2 separate regions of the Homo sapiens genome follow, and region 2 is linked to region 1. The links are contacts of gene promoters, found by promoter capture Hi-C in human tissues and cell types (Jung and others, 2019). All regions are on one chromosome and are shown on one strand. Each heading gives the region's core, a stretch centred on a gene start or on the middle of the fragment in contact. The rest is flanking DNA. Distances are from core to core; before and after follow the strand shown. Region 1 holds the start of CCDC146 (coiled-coil domain containing 146). Region 2 overlaps CCDC146 (coiled-coil domain containing 146).

Region 1 (2,858 bases), core at 162-2,661:
CCCGTCTAAAACCAAATACTCAAACCAGGTGGTACCTGGAACATCCTATTGACAGGGCTGTTTTGGGACACACCCCCAGGCTGTGAGCAAGGGGAAATGTAGATGGACTGCCATACCATTGAATGAATTGTCAAGAAACTTCAACCTTGAAAAATAAGCCAGTTTGCTAATGACAACGGGATAAAGAAGAACACAAGCGGCTCCAGAAATAGAATTTGACCTGGATTATACCAAATCGTGTTTCCATTCGATGTATAAAATTTCTATAATTGGGAACCTAATTTTTTAAATACTACTCGGATACTCAAGAATAGAACAGAGGAAAAGTTGCATTTCCGAAGGGGCCAACTGTAAATTAGGTTTAGAAAGCCAGGACCAATTAAAAGTGCACGTCGACCAAATTTATTAAGTTCACTGTGCGTTCCCTGGGACCCAAACCCGTTTTCACTTCACTTCACTTGCCAAACTTCAGGGGCGCGTTCACCTCCACGGACGCCTGGGGGTGGATAGTATCAGACACAATGGCCATCTCCTCCAGATCCTCGTCGTACTTCACCTGCAGGCCGTCCAGGCCCCGCACGCCGCCCTCCACGCCGCACACCGCGACCAGCACGCGGTCGCCATCCGGGTAGGTGAGGGGGTCCAGGGGCCTCACGGCCAGGTGGCACGGGAGCCGCGCCCGCAGCCGACCGAACGGGCTCACCTGCAGTGTCCACTCCTTCAGAGTTCGGCGCGCCGGGCCAGGCGGAGGGACCTCAGTCTCCGATCCGGGCCAGCGCTCGCCCCTACCTGAGCTGTACGGCCTGGCTTGGCAAGCCCAGCAAGACCAGCGCCCAGCGCCAGCCCACAGTCGGACCTGACGGAGACAGAGACGGAAGCAGCCAAGCTCCCAACCTGAACAGGGGGCAAGCATGGCGCGCCTCTCTCGCCAGTCCTCAGAACACTTCAGCCACAGGGAGGGTCACTTGCCACGGCCAATCGACTTGGCCACTGTGCCGCCTCAAGTCAAATAGGAGACGTAAGTCAGGGTTTGCTGAAACAAGAGCGAGCCGGTTGGCTTGACTAGGCGATGTAAACATCAGCTGCGTAATCCCCAGGGGCAAGTTGGGATTTGAAAGCTCTGAACTCTGACCTGGACCCCTTGCCTAAGTCCACCCCCTTTCGCTAAGGCCGACGGGATACGTAGTTCTAAAGCGGTGGAAAGTCGCAGAGCTCCGCCTCTTAGAAACCACATATCCCAGGAGGCAATGCGCAGGGGAGCACGGGTAAGAGGGCAGGTGTTAGAATCGCTGGAAAGGCGGGCGCCCTTTGTTTCAAGACCATTGGCTATTGGAGGGGCGGTACATGGGAGGCCACTGGCCAATGGGAAGCACGGAAGGGGGCAACGAGGGTAAAGCTGCATGGTCACCTTGGATACCAAGGACGCGACTTCTTGTTTGGAGAGGGTGGAGCTTTGGAGTGAGACCCAGGAGGCCAAATCCCAAAGAGAAAAATAGGAGCCTAAATAAGGATCAGGACCAAGGGAAGGGGTAAGAAACTGCGCTTTTTAAGTTGACAACTAGGTGCAAACTAGGAGTAACCTATGTGGATGTCAAGATCCAAGCTTCACTAACCTAGTGCGGGCATCTCCAGGGCATGGAGAATGCCTTGGTAAGAGAGTAAAGAGCAAGATTGGTGCTTTTTGAGGGAATTGCCTCTTTGGAAGTGTATTCCCTCCTATATTCCAAATATAGGAATAGAGTACTTGCTCCGTCCTGACCCTAAGTGACCTTACTTTGGGTTTTAATTTGCTCACTTTAAAAATGTAGATGATAATACCTTCCTTGCCTTGCCTCAAAGGGTTTTTGTGAGGATCAAGTAAGAAAATGGATGGGACCGTGGTGCACAGTCTACCAAATTACCGTGTAAAGTACTGTATTTTTATTTCAACGTACTTAACATTGATTCTGAGTTACCAAGAAAATTATGAGAGATCAGAACTTGTTTTGAGAATAGCATTGATCTCTTTGACTACAAATGATCATCAGTTTTAGAGTGAAAAAAAAAAAGACACAAAAAAGAGAGTCACCATGGTGCGGTGGAAAGAGCAGGGACAAGGGTCAGATTATTTTCCTGGCTCTGCCACTGCTTCATCTGTGTCACCTAGACCTGTTTCTTTAGTTTTAAAATGAAGAAAGATGGTTCTAAATGACCCTATAAGGTGTGTGTGTGTGTGTGTGTGTGTGTGTGTGTGTGTGTGTGTGTGTGTGTGTGTTTACCTTTTATAATTCTATGGGCAGTAAAATAATGGGAACAGAAAGATTTATTTTCTTCTTTTTTTCTTCTTTCCTGCCTGGTTTCTCTCTCCCCCTCTGTGCCCCTACTTCCTCCTAAAATGTATTCCCTAAATTATTTAGCCAAGACACCTGCAAACACTAACATTTCATAAAATGCAAGTGCCTTAAAAAATTGAAGCCCTTACCCAAGTACAATGACCAGAATTCTTGGGGCTATCGTGATAGATAGACTGGGCTAAAGTTCTCATGGGTACAAGTCTCAGGTTCTCTGCTAGCCACTACCTTTTTAAAATTTTTAAAAATTCAGTGTTCTCTTAAGTTATCATTGCCTCTTTTCTGTCCTTCTAGTCCTTGCTCCCTCCTTATTCTTCTTTCGGTGAAGACTCACTCATTATAGGTGCTAGCTCAGGTTCAGCAAGGGCCCACTGCAATAGTTCTTTTCTTGTCTTTGTGTTTCATTGGTTATAATTATTCAGAATAATCTTCAAACTATTTTTTATGAAAATTGACAGGTGTAACTTTGAAAAGAAATTTGAAAAAGGCACTGGTTTAAGGAAGTTGAGAATGTACTCAAATTTTCTG
Region 2 (2,858 bases), core at 1-2,500, 91 kb after region 1:
GTGACAGAGCAAGACTCCGTCTCAAAAAAAAAAAAAAAAAAAAATTGAAGAAAAAAATCCCATTCACAGTGATATGTCTCAAATAAATAAACAAATAATAAATAAATAAACAAAAAAGAAAAGAGTAAATTATTCATGGTTATTGGCTAAGCCTGTAAGTGTCATTAGCAGATTCTAGCCTACATGGCAAGAGGTAAGGTAATGTGGTAATGTAATAGAAAATTTTTTTTAAGAAGCTGGGCCATTTGTCCCATAAATTTTTCCATAATCTGGATTTTGCTTAATAGTAAGCCTGTATTTCCATTATAATCATAGAGCCTTAGTGCATAAATGTTTTATCCAGGTCACATTAATTTTTTTTTTTTTTTTTTTTGCCAAGGCTACTTTCTAGGTGGTGCCATCAACTTTGTTTTTTGTTGTTGTTCAAGTTTTTATTAAATTTTTTATTGTCACATGTACATATTTATGGTTTACATAGTGATGGCTTTTTGTGTGGTGGTGGTGGTGGTTTGAGGCAAGATCTCACTTGGTCACCCAGGCTGGAGTGCAGTGGCGCAATTACAGCTCACTGCAGCCTTGACTTCCTGGGCTCAAGCATCCTCCCACCTCAGCCTCCCGAGTAGCTGAGTCCACAGGTGTGCACCACTATGCTTGACTAATTTTTTTTTAACTTTTAGTAGAATCAAGGTCTCACCACATTTCCCAGGCTGGTCTTAAATTCCTGATTTCAATCAATTCTCCCACCTCAGCCTCCCAAAATACTGGGATTACAGACATGAGCCACCTTGCTCTACCCATAGTGATGTTTTGATACTTATAATGTATAGTAATCAGATCGGGTTAATTAGCATAGCTGTCATTTCAAACATTTATCATTTCTTTTTAATTATTATTTTAAATTCAGAGGTTATATGTACAGGTTTGCTACACAGGTATACTGCATAATGTTGGGTTTGGCTTTCTCTTGAACCCATCACATAAATAGTGAATATAGTACCCAGTAGGCAGTTTTTAAACCCTCACTGCCCTCCCTCCCATTCTGAAGTCCCCAGTGTCTATTGTTTCCATCTTTATGTCCATGTGTACCTATTGTTTAGCTCCCACTTATAAGTTAGAAAATGAATACTTTGATTTTGTTTCTGCATTCATTCACCTAGGATAATGGCCTCCAGCTGTATTCATGTTGCTGCAAAGGACATGATTTCATTCTTTTTTATGACTGCATAGTATTCCATGGTGTATATGTATCACATTTTCTTTATCTAATCCTAATGGATGGACACTTAGGTTGATTCCATGACTGCTATGGTGAATAGTGCTGCAATAAATATAAGAGTGCAGGTGTCTTTTTGATAGAATGATTTCTTTTCCTTTGAGAATCCCAGCAGTGGGAGTGCTGGGTCAAATGGTGGTTCTATTTTTAGTTCTTTGAAAAATTTCCATGCTGTTTTCCACAGGGGCTGAACTAATTTACATTCCAACCAGCAGCGTATAAGGATTCCTTTTTTTCCACATCCTTGCCAACATATTATATTTTGACTTTTTAATAATAGCCATTCTGATTGGTGTGAGATGGTATCCCATTGTGGTTTTCATTTGCATTTATCTGATGATGACAAGCATTTTTTCATATGATTGTTTACTCATATGTCTTCTTTTGGGAAGTGTCTGTTCATGTCCTTTGCCCACCTTTTAATGAGGTTATTTGTTTTTTGCTTGTTGATTTAAGTTCCTTATAGATTCTGGATATTTGTCCTTTGTCAGCCTGATAGTTAGCAAATATTTTCTCCCATTCTGTAGATTGTCTGTTTGCTCCATTGATTGTTTCTTTGCTGTGCTGAATCTCTTTAATTAAATTTCATTTGTCAATTTTTGTTGTTGTTGCATTTGCTTTTGAGGTCTTAGTCATAAATTCTTTTTCTAGTCTAATGTTTAAAAGTTTTCTTTTAGGATTTATATAGTTTGAGGTCTTACATTCAAGTCTTTAATCCCTCTTGAGTTAATTTTTATATGTGGTGAGAGCCAGGGGTACCGTTTCATTCTTCTGAATATAGCTAGCCACTTTTTCCAGTACCATTTTTTTGAGTAGGACGTCCTTTCCCAATTGTTTCTTTTTGTCAGCTTTGTTGGAGATCAGTTGGTTGTAGTATATGGCTTTATTTCTGAGTTCTCTGTTCTGTTCCATCGATCTGTGTGTCTATTTTTGCACCAGTACCGTGCTATTTTGGTTACTACAGCCTTGTAGTATAGTTTGAATTCACAAAATGGGATGCCTCTTGGTTGCATGAACTTTCATCAGGAGGCACATGATATTGGTTGTCTCCCTTTTAGTGATGTTACCTGCTATTAATAATACTTGCCTGGGTCTATTAATTCATTAGGAATTTTAAATGACAATATTATAATACTATTATTTTCTCTTCACTTATTTATTAGAATCCTTCTAAAAAGAGAAGCTTCCACTCAGTTATTTGGTTACCCTGCTGTAGAGGCATGATAAATACTTGATTTTCAGGTTTTCAAAATGATTAATTGATTCCCCAGTATCCTTCAAAGGTGAGAGGTGTTGTGGGGTGTTTTTATTTTTTTGGTGTTTTTTTTTTTTTGAAGTATTACTGTGAACTCATTTACTTAAACATAGTTATTCCCATCCTTTATAGTTGTTAGCTCATTGCCAGTCCTCCTGGCCCATTTTTTGGGTAGTGGGAGCCTTTTGACATGACTCCAAATCCCTTTGACATGATTCTAGTAGTCTTGGGTAGATTTTTTGCTTTTCTGATATGACAGAAGCATTGGAGGCTCATTTGTTTCCATGCTCAAAACTTGGAATCAGTCATTTCTCCAAAGGAGCCTCCCCT

The links. The method cuts DNA at HindIII sites, captures the fragments that hold promoters and counts their contacts. A contact is called where the count stands out against the background at its distance.
Region 2: a fragment that was not itself captured here is called in contact with the fragment with the promoter of CCDC146 in region 1 in 6 of the 25 tissues and cell types used here (H1 embryonic stem cells, IMR-90 fibroblasts, aorta and 3 more).

The regions. Positions count from the first base shown.
Region 1 is chr7:77,121,204-77,124,061 of GRCh38, forward strand. CCDC146 (coiled-coil domain containing 146) reads left to right here and starts at 1,412. Exons shown (of 19, transcript NM_020879.3): 1 at 1,412-1,529. It also overlaps the pseudogene FAM185BP. RefSeq lists enhancers at 201-702, 703-1,202 and a silencer at 1,098-1,197. The HindIII fragment of the contact is 9,649 bases long and covers 1-2,593 here.
Region 2 is chr7:77,212,598-77,215,455 of GRCh38, forward strand. All of the region lies in intron 2 of CCDC146 (coiled-coil domain containing 146), which reads left to right. Among named protein-coding and RNA genes, the nearest start is that of FGL2, 14 kb to the left of the region's middle. The HindIII fragment of the contact is 4,628 bases long and covers 1-2,858 here.